Linked DNA regions of Homo sapiens: region 1 is linked to region 2. Evidence: promoter capture Hi-C in 16 types of primary human blood cells and fetal thymus (Javierre and others, 2016). All regions are on one chromosome and are shown on one strand. The core of a region is centred on a gene start or on the middle of the fragment in contact, and the rest is flanking DNA. Distances in the headings are between cores, read along the strand shown.

Region 1 (6,909 bases), core at 2,241-4,740, 260 kb after region 2:
GAATTCCTGGGTTCAAGCAATCTTCCTGCCCCAGCCTCCCAAAATGCAGGGATTACAGCCATGAGCCACTACACACAACCTCTTAGCTAATTTTCTATGTCATTTTAAATGAGAAGCATTCAGACAGTATCTTCTTACCACTAAATCTAATGTTCTATAATAAGTAAATGATTAAATGAACCCTAATTTTTTTAAAGTTCTCCTTTGACCCCTCATCTCCCTCCAGCTACCTGCTATTTCCCTGCTCACCACTTCAGGGTAAATTATCTTGAAAAAGTTGTTGTCTATATCTGTCTCAATTTCTTCACTTCTCATTTTCTTCAATCTACTCAAAACAAAGTTTCCAAGCCCTCCACTCCATTAAATCAACTTATCAAGGTCTACTACTTCCACATTTATCTGACCTCTTAGCAGGATTCAACAAAGCTGACAATCTTCTTAAAACATTCTCTTCTTCTGGCTTCTGAGATACTACAATGCCATTTTTTTTGTTTTTTCATGCATCACTGGTTACTGTTTCAGTATCTTTTTATGGCTTCTCCCTCGACAGACCTCTAAAAGGCAAGTGTTCCTTGGGGTTCAATCCTGAGTCATCTTCTCTAAGTTGTCTCATCCATTCCCATCACTTCAAATACCATCAACATGTTAATAACTACCAAGTTACACCCCTAGCAGAGACCTCTCCCCATGCTCCAATATGACTACTTAGCTGTCACACAAGCATGTCAAACTCAACATGCCCAAAATTGGGTCCTTAATTCTCCACCATCACCACCCTTGAAGTCCCCTGGTACTACCTGACAATTATGAAAGCCAGAAACCCTTCCTTCACCCCTCATCCCTCACATCCAACCTACAGCAACTTCTGTGTGTGTGACTTCACTTGACCTCCACTGCCTTAAACCACCTTAACCCAAGCCACCATCATCTCTTTCCTGAATATCACACTAGTTTCCCCATTTCCATTGTTGCTCCCTTCCAAAACACCATCACACAGCAGCCAGAGAAACTCTGTAAAACAAACACCAGATCTTATCACTCTCCTACTTCCACGGCATCACATTACATTTTTCTTTCCAAACTCCTTATGATGGTCTTTAAGGTCCTATATGACCTGCTATGTGCCCACTTCTCCAACCTCACTTCATACCATATCTCCTCTCAATCACTATTCTAAAGACACTGATTTTGTGTCAATTCCTCTCCCCCATACCCCTTAATTCCCTCTTTCTGAAATCCCTCCTCGTTCCACCTTCATTCTTTGCAAGCCAGGCTCCTTCTTATCTTTTAGAACTCAGCTTAAATATCACTTCCTCAAATAAAACTCTCCAGACTCCTCTATCTAGTTGGAGGTCTTTCCCCACAAGCCCGTACTCTCTGTTACTGTGCCCTGTTTATGTTCTTCCTAGCAGTTACCAAAATCTTTAATTATTTATGCTTTTTTTGGTTACAGATTTCTCCATTAGAAAGTAATGTTTTGTGTATGTCAGATACAACTGAAATCTTCTACTATGAAACGCTTTATCCTTTGACTTTTTGTTAGGGAAGGTCAAAGTTATTTGCAGGAGTTTCTGGCACTCAGGCAACTGTCTAACCAAGTCCTATAAATAAAGTTAGAGTGCTACTAATTTCACCCTAGTTACCAAAAGGACTCACAGCTTTGCCACAGATACAAACCACAAATAAATGCTGGTAACAATGGCTTTAAAATGCTACACTGTGAAATAATCATAACGTCAATATGAAAAGGCAGTTCCAATTTAATCATTTACTTTAAGCTAATCTGATAATCTACATTCCAAATTGTCTCCCTTCCAAAACTATAAATTTATTCTTCTCAGCACAATAATAGCATCCCAGTTCAAGCTCTCCTCTAATCAAGCTTGCTGTATATAAGTTAGTTAACTAGAGTCTAGAACTACGTCGTCTAACACGCAGCCAGCTGTCATATGTGGTTATGTGAATTTAACTTAATTAAAATTAAAATTTCAGTTACTTAATACTAGCCACATGTCAAGTGCTCAAGAGCCACGTGAGGATAGTGGCTATCATAATGGATAGGGCAGACATAAAACATTTCTATCATCACAGAAAGGTCTATTAGACAGAGCTGTCCTAGAACACGGTAATAACCAGGAAGCAAAAAGGCCCTCTAGGTATCCAGAATTCCAAAACATTCATTCCAAAATTTTCATCGGCAGGAAAACTCCATCAGACCTTCTCTCTGAATCTATTTATTTTTATTTTAGGAATATTTCTGTCCTGGTTATCTGGCTAATTGTCCACCAAAAATTTACAAAGCAAATTAAGAAAAGGAACTGGGAAGCAGTGGGGAATAAGTACCAGAGGAAAAAGGAATATTATGTTAGAGGCAGCCAACATAGGAAACAAGAAAGATGAAGAGAAAAAAAATCTAAAAAGCAGGTAAAATAGATAGATGATATATGTCAAAATGGTGCCACTTAGTAAGGCAAAACCAGCAAAAGCTCCTGAAATATTACTCTTTTATATTCCTAAACAATACTGATGCTGATACCTGTGTTAAAACCATTTAAAAATGCCCACTATTTTACTGTTAAGAAGAAATAAATTTTATAGTTATACAACACAATTTAGAAGGATTTATTTCTGAAATGACTGAATCTTAAATACCTTGGTCTTTAAAGAAGGGAAAATCCTCTCAGCTGGTTAGGATACTCAGCCATGAAGAAGAGAAATATTCTGCACAAATTCAAGAGTTCAGTCCCTTGAATATGAATGAATGCGTTTACAGAGCAGGTATAGATATGTAAGTAAGACATGACTCTCCTGTTTAATGAATTATGGCTTATCCATACAGTGAAACACTGAACAGTATAGCCTTGGGGGAGGGGGATGAGGAAGCTCTTAAAATACCATTATGAAATACTCTAATAGAGTCATGCACTGCATAGCAATGTTTCAGTCAATGATGGAACACATATGTCATGGTGGTCCCGTAAGATGATAATGCCATGTTTTTACTGTGCCTTGTCCATGCTTAGATATGTTTAAATATGAAAATATTTGCCATTGTGTTACAATTGCCTACAGTAATCAGTAGAGTAACATGCTGTACTGGTTTGCAGCCTAAAGGCATTAGGCTGTACCATATATAATATATAGTCAGGTATATATCTAGGTTTGTGTAAGTACATTCTATGATGTTTTCACAATGAAGTCACCTAATGACACATTTCTCAAAAAGTATCCTTATCATTAAGCCATGCATACCGCATATGTCATTAAGTGGAAAAAAGAAAGGTTTAGCAATGGTTTTAAAACCAGTGGTTTTTTAAATGGGAGGAAAAGATCAAAGGAGGAATTATACACAAGAAGTAAAAAACACCCAGTGCCTGTAGGGGAAAGACACTGGGAACTCAAGACAGGAATGGGAGAGCAACTTTTCACGATATGACCATTTTCTACTTTTAAAATATTAACTTATGTAAATGTTATTTATTCAAAATACAATAATCATACATTTTATAAAAGTGAGTTCTCTATCCCTAAGAAATGTATAATCTAATGACTTACCCAGGCTTCAAAAAACAAAAGAAAAAAAATCACACTTTTTCCTTTACCAATGGTCAGATATTTAAATATTTCACACATACTTTATTCTTACTTAAAACCTCATTCTATGGCCTGGCACAGTGGCTCATGTCTGTAATCCCAGCACTTTCTGGGGCTGAGGCAGGCAGATCTCTTCAGGTCAGGAGGCCAGCCTGGCCAACAGAGTGAAACCCCATCTCTACTAAAAATACAAAAATTAGCCGGGCGTGGTGGCACACACCTGTTAGTCCAGCTACTTGGGTGGCTGAGTCACAAGAATTGCTTGAACCCAGGAAGTGGAGGCTGCAGTGAGCCAAGATCACGCCACTGCATCCCAGCCTGGCCAACAGAGCAAGACTCTGTCCCAAACAAACAAACAAACAAACAAAAAACCAAAAAACTTTCTATACCATTTGAATTTCCATTTCCAACAAACTAATCAATTTTGGAAAAAAACTCAAACTTGATCTTAAAATGGAAACTGCAGTGATCCTTACCATAATCTTGTATTATTTAGCTTTTAAAAAATCTTTGCATAAAAGTATATACATTTCAAGAAAAAAATCATCTTGTTGGAAAACATGGCAAAGACTGGTTGAAAATCTCCCAGGGAAGCCGCAGAATGGTCTTCTGTATCATGTGGGAGATAAGGCTGGGTCACTCTGATAGGCCCTGGAGCTGAGAATGTTAGTGGCTTCCCAATATCCTCTCTTCTCTTCTTCCTTAGTAACAAAACCCCAGTTTTCATTTTAGCATATTACTGTACACGCTTCCCCAGAAAAGGACTACATCTTCCATCCTCCACTACAGCTACATATGGCCCTAAGACTAATTCCGACTAATGAGATATAAGCAGAAATGTTACATGGAACTTCCTGGAAGTTTTCTTAGGTAGGGGAGGGGACACCCCTCTTTTCTTCCTCTCAAACTGCTTTGTGGAAAGGGGGAAATGATGGCTGAATCATCTAGGCCCATCCTACAGTCAGAGAAGTAAACAGCAGTAAGGATCTTAGATCCTTGGTAACCAGACAGCGCCATATTAGCCTGGACTGCCTAATTTCAGACTTCTTTTTCATGAAAGACAAATGAATCTCTCTCTTGTTAAGATTCTGTGTGGGGAAGAGGAGATTGTTATATGCAGCTGAACTTAATCCTAAATGTTTTCAATAATAAATTATTTACTTTAACTTACAAATCAAAACTCGATTTTTTTTTTTGAAACAGAGTGTCGCTCCGTCGCGCAGGCTGGAATGCAGTGGCGTGACTCCAGCTCACTGCAACCTTCACCTCCCGGATTCAAGAGATTCTTGTGCTCAGCCTCCCAAGTAGCTGGGATTACAGGTACCCACCACCATGCCCAGCTAATTTTTGTATTTTTAGTGGAGACGGGTTTTTGTCACATCGGCCAGACTGATCTCGAACTTCTGACCTTAAGAGATCTACCTGCCTCGACCTCCCAAAGTGCTGGAATTACAGGTGTGAGCCACTGTGCTCTACCCAAAATTCAATTTCACTTGAAACAACAGAAAGCTTTATGCACATCAACAGTGTGCACATTTGATGACCAAAACAGAGACTGTCAAAGAATCTTGAAATGTCTATTTCAAATGTTTAGGCCAAGAAGTCAACTGGTGTATCACTCTGATCTACTATCCATAACTATTCCACACCAAAATGATAGAAATAAAATTTTAACTTAACCATTCTTGAATTCGTATAATGAGAAACAGTCAAATATGGATACACTCAGTTTCTTCACCTGCAAAATGGAGTTAATAATGCCTACATTACAGGGATGTTGTCAAACCCAAATAGAGAACAAATGTTCTTCAACTTACAATGGGATTTTGTCCCTATAAACTCATCATAAGTTGAAAATATAGTAAGTCAAAAATGCATTTAACACACCTAACCTACCAAACATCATAGCTTAGCCTAGCCTATCTTAAACATGCTCAGAACACTTACATTAGGTTACAGTTGGGTAAAATCATTTAACACAATGCCTATTTTATAATAAAGTGTTGAATATCTCATGTAATTTACTGAATATTATAATAAAAGTGAAAAAATGGGTACTCAGATGGTTTCTACTGAATGAACATTGGTTTCTACTGAATGTGTATTGCTTTTGTACCATTGTAAAGTCAGAAAACTGTTAAGCAGAACCATTCTAAGTTGTGGATGGTTCAACATCTGTATGTTAGGCTATTATGTAAACAGAGCAATATATACTATTGTTATCATTACAATTACCACCACAATAGCCAATTGGTAAATATGAGTCACAAAATAAAAAATACTAGATGAAACCTATTAAATAGGCAGAAACTTAGGTTTGGGGCTCAAGGAATTCAGTGAACTTGCCAAGCCTCTTTCATCCAATTTCTCATCTATTTTTTTTTTTTTTTTGAGATGGAGTCTCGCTCTGTCACCCAGGCTGGAGTGCAGTGGCATGATCTCAGCTCACTGCAACCTCCACCTCCCAGGTTCACACCATTCTCCTGCCTCAGCCTCCCAAGTAGCTGGGACTACAGGCGCCCGCCACCACGCCTGGCTAATTTTTTGTATTTTTAGTATAGACAGGGTTTCACTGTGTTAGTCAGGATGGTCTCGATCTCCTGACCTCGTGATCTGCCCACCTCGGCCTCCCGAAGTGCTGGAATTACAGGAGTGAGCCACTGCGCCCAGCACATCTCGCTATCTTTCAGAAAATCATTGTTATCAGGTTTGGTGCAGTGGCTCATGCTTCTTGTTGCAGCTGCTCAAGAGGCCAAGGTGAGAGGATCGCTTGGGGCCAGGAATTTGAGACCAGCCTAAGCCACATAGCAAAACCCAGTCTCTTAAACATATATATATGAAAAAATATACATTACATCAGGAATTTCAGTTTCCTTCTTTAAAGTATGGGTGGAAAGAAGGGAGTTGAGAGGTTGTAAGGGGAGAAAAAGAACAACAGCAGTAAAAGGCTTAAAGTAATTAGGAAGTCAGATACACCTGAAATATGTAACCCTGTTTTAGCATTTTACAAGTTGTCAAAAGGTAATACAACAATTTTAAAAGTAACGCTAGCAATATTTTTCTTCATTCAAAAGAAAAATACTAAATACAAATATAGTTTCTACTTAGTATGCAACAATCTATCATGAAAAGTGCAATGTCTCCGAGCAATGTCTTCGAGAAATAAGGGTAACATGTGAGTCCCCCTGTTGGAGCGAAGTGGCACAATCTCGGCTCACTGCAACCTCCGCTTCCCGGATTCAAGCGATTCTCCTGCCTCAGCCTCCTGGGTAGCTGGGATTACAGGCACAAGCCACCATGCCCGGTTAATGTTTT
Region 2 (6,542 bases), core at 3,279-5,778:
AGCCTCAGCCTCCTAAAATGCTGGGATTACAGGCATGAGCCACCATGTCCAACCTCATTTCCCTTTATTATTTCTTGAGACCCACTAAGCTGATTTCATGACACTGTAAATTGTGACTTGCAGTATAAGAACAACCAAGCTGGATAAATGGCTTCCTTGTTTTTGCTTACACTGCTCCAAGATGATGTGTCACTTGCAACCTGCTAACCAAAATGCCAACTAACCTTGCCTCTTGCACAACCTGTACCTCCTGTTCCAGCCCCTGCCCACCTCCACCCCACCCCTGGCCAGGCTACCACAAGGAGAGCAGTTTGCAAACTCACTGATCATTCAGCCACAGAGCAGAGATGTGGACTTCTGTGATGTGTTTTAGTGCAAAGAACTGGAGGTAGACACATTTGGGTTCTACGCCTAACCCTAGTCATGTCAGACACTGTGATCTTGGATGAGGTCCTTGGACCCATGAACATCAGTCTTGGCAGCTATATATTGGGCTTGTGCTCCCTGCTTCATAGAAGGAGCATATGGATAAAATGCGATGATGAGTGAAATATTCCGAGCACGTGCTCCACATGTAACATTCTGCACATGGAAGTTCCCATCCCTCCAACCCAGGATGCCAGACATCTTCATTTTTAATCCAGGGTAGAAAGAAAGAGACATCCCCTCTCTCGCTCTCTCAGATCTCTCATGAAAGATGAATCCTTGGGGCTGGGCGCGGTGACTCATGCCTGTAATCCCAGCACTTTCGGAGGCCGAGGCGGGTGGATCACCTGAGGTCAGAAGTTCAAGACCAGCCTGGTCAACATGGTGAAACCCCGTCTCTACTAAATATACAAAAAAAATAGCCGGGGGTGGTGGTGGGCGCCTGTAATCCCAGCTACTCAGGAGGCTGAGGCAGGAGAATCGCTTGAACCAGGGAGGCGGATGTTGCACTGAGCCGATATCGTGCCATTGCACTCCAGCCTGGGCAACAAGAGTGAAACGTTGTCTCAAAAAAAAAAAAAAAAAAAAAAAGATGAGTCCTGTGTATACAAAAATGGTAATGATGGCCAGAGCACCTGGTGCGTGCATCAACCTTTACCATTGTCAAGATAACTCATTCCGCTGGGCATGATAGCTAACACCTATAATCCCAGAACTTTGGGAGGCCAAGGCGGGTGAATCACCTGAGGTCAGGAGTTCAAGACCAGCCTGGCCAACATGGCAAAACCCCATCTCTACTGAAAATACAAAAATTAGCCAGGCGTATTAGCACATGCCTGTAATCCCAGCTACTTGGAGACTGAGACAGGAGAATTGCTTGAACCTAGGAGGCAGAGGTTGCAGTGAGCCGAGATCGCACCACTGCACTCCAGCCTGGGCGACAGAGCGAGACTGTCTCAAAAAAACAAAACAAAACAAAAAACAAACGAACAAAAACCTTCCTCACAAGAACCCCGGGAAGGAGATGGGATGGAAGTGGGTGAGGGTTAGTTGCTGTACGCCAAGCAACAAGGGTGTGGCCATGCGAGGCCTGGCCCTTTTGGTGGTCCTGGGTTCAAGTTCAGTGCTCCACTCTCCCCTTGTAATGGCTGCTTCCCTGCTTCGCTCTGGCCTGGGCTCCCAGGATCCTGAAACTGCTTCCAGGCAAAGCAATGGAGGCCACGATAGAACTTTTGCTACATTTGGCAAATTGCAGTCTCAGGGCAGCATTTGCTCAAACTCTAGGCAACCTCCGCCTCCTAGGTTCAAACTCTCCCTAAATGCTGTAGCCAGAGAGAAGAAAAGAAATTTCTAGAATCCAAGAATTTCAGGGTCAAAGTGTGCTTCAAGGCCTTTCCCCCATCCCAGGACGGATGGTCCCTGCCTGTGCCAGGGGCCACTGGGCCGAGGCGTGATGAGCTCTCTGGGAGGCAGACAGCCTGAGCCCAGAGTGGGTTGGTTGTGGCTGCAACACAGAAAACCTGCAGCTCCTCAGAGAGGTGCCAAGGCAAACCAGAACCCAGGTGTCCAGGAGCCAGCAATGCCTGCTGGAAGGGTCACAAAGGACCCTCTTTGTGGGCCAGTGGAACCCCAGAGGGCCAGCACAAGCCCCTGCCCCCAGGTGCCATCTCCGAGGCATGCAAATTTCTTTCTTTTTTTTTTTTTTTTTTTTTGAGACAGGGTCTTGCTCTGTCACCCAGACTGGAGTGCAGTGGTGCAATCTCAGCTCACTGCAGCCTCAATGAGAGGCAAACTTTTCAGAAAACATAAAAAGCCCTGATAGAAAATTTGAACTTAAATTGCCTGAACATTCACCCCCAAATGAGAGACTTTACCCAAAGATGTGTGTGTGTGTGTGTGTGTGTGTGTGTTTGTTTGTTTGTTTTTTTGAGACAGAGTCTCGCTCTGTCGCCCAGGCTGGAGTGCAGTGGCACAATCTCGGCTCACTGCAACCTCCACCTCCCAGGTTCAAGCGATTCTCCTGCCTCAGCCTCCCGAGTAGCTGGGATTACAGGTGCCCGCCACCACACATAGCTAATTTTTGTATTTTTAGTAGAGACAGGGTTTCACCATGTTGGTCAGGCTGGCCTCAAACTCCTGACCTCAAGCGATCCACCTGCCTCAGCCTCCCAAAGTGCTGGCATTACAGGCGTGAGCCACCGCGCCCGGTCCGAGAGTGTGTTTTAAATCACAAGAGACTAAGGGGCCTTCAGGCAAGTTTGTTTCTTTTCAGCAGGTCTTGGGTCCCTTGAGGGAAGGGAAGTGGACTCTAGGAAATTAAGCGACTCCCTACTTTTGTTCATCTGAGCTATAGGGTGGATGTTTTCTGTCCCCTTACATAAGCAGCACTTCCTGCATTTGGCTACAGAACATTTTTCTCACATGGCATCTCTTGGGGCGATTGTTTCACAAGAGCCCTGGTGGTAAACACTGCCCCCATCCAATGGCCGGTCTGGCCCCTGAGACTCCCAGGACCGAGCAGTGACCACAACATCTGGGTCCGTTGCCAGGGAAAACAACAGGCAGGCCTGGGATGGCTCAGCGGCCCCAGCCAGGCAGCCAAGTCCTCCTCAAGGTCAGGCTGTGTTTAGCGTGTTCCCCAAGTGTGGGAGGCCAGGAGCAGGGGTGGGTTGTGGAATCCGGGATGCCACGGTTGGAAAGGCCCCTACAAGACCCAACTCAGCAGCCCTTAACCCCTCATTCCTGCTCGTAGGGCCCAGGGACAGGAGGTGGCCTCTATCACAGCAAAGCCAGGACTGGCTAGGTGGGCCGCACCTTCTGCAAAGCAACAGCCTCCAATGTGGTCTCAGCTAGGGGTGGTGACTGGGGACTTCTGGGCATATAAATACAAACAAACCACATGGCTTCTGATCACAATTTGACACAAATGCTAGAGAGACACAGATCTCAGCCCGTAACCTCACTGTGGGCTCATTCTTGTAGACACAGAGCCTAGGACTGGTTCTTAGCTGTGTAATCACAAACAACCCACAACTTCTAGAAGCCTGGGTTTCCTCTTCCTTAAAGTGGGAGACAGAGTATCACAATCCTATATCTCCAATCCTTGAGGCCAGATGCATGTCAGAGTTCCTGATTTGGGGGATTTTTAGAAAGGTAATGGGGTGCAGGTATCGTGTACTATGTAACCCACGCACCCGCAGCAGCCCTCCTCAGTCAAACATATTAATATTTCTGCAGTGACTGTAAATATTCAAATTAAGCAGGAGACATAAAAACCACAGGTGAATTCATGCCAGATCAGGTCAGGTTTTGCCACTAAATGAATAAATTATCATTTTTTTTTAAGTTTTCATTCTGAGGCCAGGTGCGGTGGCTCACGCCTGTAATCCCAGCACTTTGGGAGGCCTAGATGGATGGATCATTTGAGGTCAGCAGTTTGAGACCAGCCTGGCCAACATGGCAAAACCCCATCTCTACTAAAAATACAAAAATCAGCCGGGCGTGGTGGCAGGTGCCTGTAATCTCAGCTACTAGGGAGGCTGAGACAGGGGAATAGCTTGAACGTAGGAGGCGGAGGTTGCAGTGAGCCGAGATCGTGCCATTGCACTCCAGCCTGGGCAACAGAGCGAGACTTCATCTCAAAAAACAATAATAATAATAATAATAAAATAAAGTTTCCATTTTCAGAGGATTCTGCATTCAGAGTTATTAGCCCTTTAATGCTGTGCACCTCATAGGGTTGTTACCCACATCAGCGTCACGTAAGATGCTGTGGAGGAAAGCAGTTTCAGAACAATCAGTGATGACAGCTACTGTGAATCCACTATTCAACAGGCGCCCCATCGCTTGCTCATGGGCTCCTCACCATAGCTCTAAGCCACAGGAGCTATTTTCATACCCCATATAGGTCCATCCTATAACACAGCCAGGACAGAGACGAGAGACTCAGGCCTCCTGACTTGGATTCTGCTCTTTCACCTCCTTGTTCATCCAATTAGAGAAACTGGCAAAAAGGAAACTGAAAGTGACAGCTGGAGCCCATGATTTCCTGGAAGAGCCCTAGAGCTTTGCTTTTTCTCTCCTGCAGCACTTAACCGAAACCAGTTTTGCAATCAATTCCTGTTCAAAGGCCACCCTACTCTTCCTATCCGTCTTTCTCCAGCCCAGACACTCACAGCCCCCTGCCAGACCAGGGGACCTCGGAGAGGCAAGGACAGAGGTTCAGGATCTTCCTCTCCCTCGGGACCCAAGGCCACAAAGGAGAGCTCCGTGGAGAGAAGGTGAGACGGCGGGCAGAAGTCGGGGGAGGAGGGGGCTGCCGCTCTGGTCCCTGAAGGACAGAGCCCCCAAGGGGTTGGCTTTAGGCACCTGACTCAGGGAAAAGAGCTGCTGTGAAAGCAGCGGGGTTCAAATGCCAGCCAGAGCTTGAGGAGAGTCTGAGGATTAACTTCTCCTGTGTTAATCCTGGTAGGTTTCCCTCCCTTACAGCCATTTCAGGGTTAAATTGAAACATGCTAAAGCATGCGATGTGACTAGCCAAGTTGCATTTGTCCCTCCACTGCTGGGGATCCGAGGGCTTAGGCAGAGGGGACCTGGCCCTTAGAAAGCAGATGATTACATCAGCCACAGGCGTTTCCCTAGAAATTCAGTAGAGGAGTGGTTTAGGGGTGTCATCTCACAAGAAAAAAGGTGCTGGGTGAGTTGTCTAGAAACTGCAAAGCCAACCTACAGAGTTTTCTAGATTGTAGATTTATGTGAAGTTGTTTGGGGAAGAGGGTGAGGGAGTTTGTGATAAATATTAGGGCGACTAGGCCAGGCGCAGTGGCTCATGCCTGTAATCCCAGCATTTTGGGAGGCTAAGGCAAGCGGATTGCTTGAGCCCAAGAGTTTGAGACCAGCATGGGCAACATAGTGAGACCCCGTCTCTACAAAAAATCAAAAAATAGCTGGGCGTGATGGTGCACACCTGTAGTCCCAGCTACTTGGGAGGGTGCTGAGGTGGAAGGATCACTTGAACCCAGGAAGTCAAGAATGCAGTGAGCAGTGATCGCACCACTGCACTCCAGCCTGGGCAACAGAGTGAGACCCGGTCTCAAAAAAAAAAAAAAAAATCTAGGGAGGTTATCTTGAAGCTGTGTTTTCAAAGTAAGCAGATTTTTCTTACTTAGATTGTGTATCTGCAGAAGTTGGTTTTGTGGGGGAAGGCAGGTAAGGAAAGACTGTCATAAATATCCTGTAAGCTTTCAAATGAAAGTAAGTTCTCAAATCCTCTTCCAATAAACCTCTCACAAGCAAATCCTCTCGCAACCACCAAGAGCAGGTCAGAGGGGATGGAATGGGACCTGCTTAGATGAGTTTCCTGCTGTTACCTTTGCCCTGCATCCCATAGGACTAATGTAAAAAAATGAGAGAGGTATTGGCGGACGCTGGTAAAAAATGGGGTTCCAGACCAGAGTCTCTTACCCCCAGCAACCTTGTCATGTTCAACCAGGTGATCCCTGGTTGTGGGGGCTGTCCTCTGCATCGTAGGGTGCTTGGCAGCATCCCTGGCCTCTGCCCTCTACATACCAACAGCAGTACCCTCTCCAGCTGAGACCATCAAAAATGTTTCCAGATATTAGCAGTGTCCCTGAGGAGCAAACACGCCCTGTTTGGGACCAACTACTCCAGACTCTGCGTGGCTGGAATTGCACAGGCTTTCCTGCTTACTGTGTGACACTGGCCTCCCTATGTCTCAGTTTGCACCTCTGTAAAATGGGCATCATCTTAGCACCGATCTCACTGGGTCACTGTGTAAAGCAGGTAGATGTATGTCTGGTGAAAGTAAACTCTTAAAGGTGCCAAGCCCCCTAAACCAAACCTAGCTTCACATACCAAAGAGGGGAGAAGGTTTTTATCTTTGAAGCATTCATTCTTTTTCATAGACTACCCCAAAGAAATAACCAAACATGTAGACAGACGTCTATATAAGGATTTTAACCAAAAATTATAAATACAAAATTTTAAAATAACTGAAAACAACCCAAAGGTTCAACAGTGAGAGAGTTATTGAATGTGTAATGATACATTCGTAAAATGAAATGCGACATGGCTTCTATGTATCGCCTGGGGAACTA

Evidence for each region. Contacts are between HindIII fragments. The CHiCAGO score rates a contact against its expected background, and 5 or more counts as called.
Region 1: a contact is called between a fragment that was not itself captured here and the fragment with the promoter of APOL6 in region 2, in 5 of 17 cell types (M0 macrophages, M2 macrophages, M1 macrophages and 2 more). The highest score is 11.7, in M0 macrophages.

What each region holds. Positions count from the first base shown.
Region 1 is chr22:35,902,876-35,909,784 of GRCh38, forward strand. The region is part of intron 2 of RBFOX2 (RNA binding fox-1 homolog 2); the gene reads right to left. Among named protein-coding and RNA genes, the nearest start is that of RBFOX2, 120 kb to the right of the region's middle. The HindIII fragment of the contact is 3,221 bases long and covers 1,881-5,101 here.
Region 2 is chr22:35,643,918-35,650,459 of GRCh38, forward strand. APOL6 (apolipoprotein L6) reads left to right here and starts at 4,529. Exons shown (of 3, transcript NM_030641.4): 1 at 4,529-4,706. RefSeq lists an enhancer at 4,234-4,533. The HindIII fragment of the contact is 8,876 bases long and covers 1-5,664 here.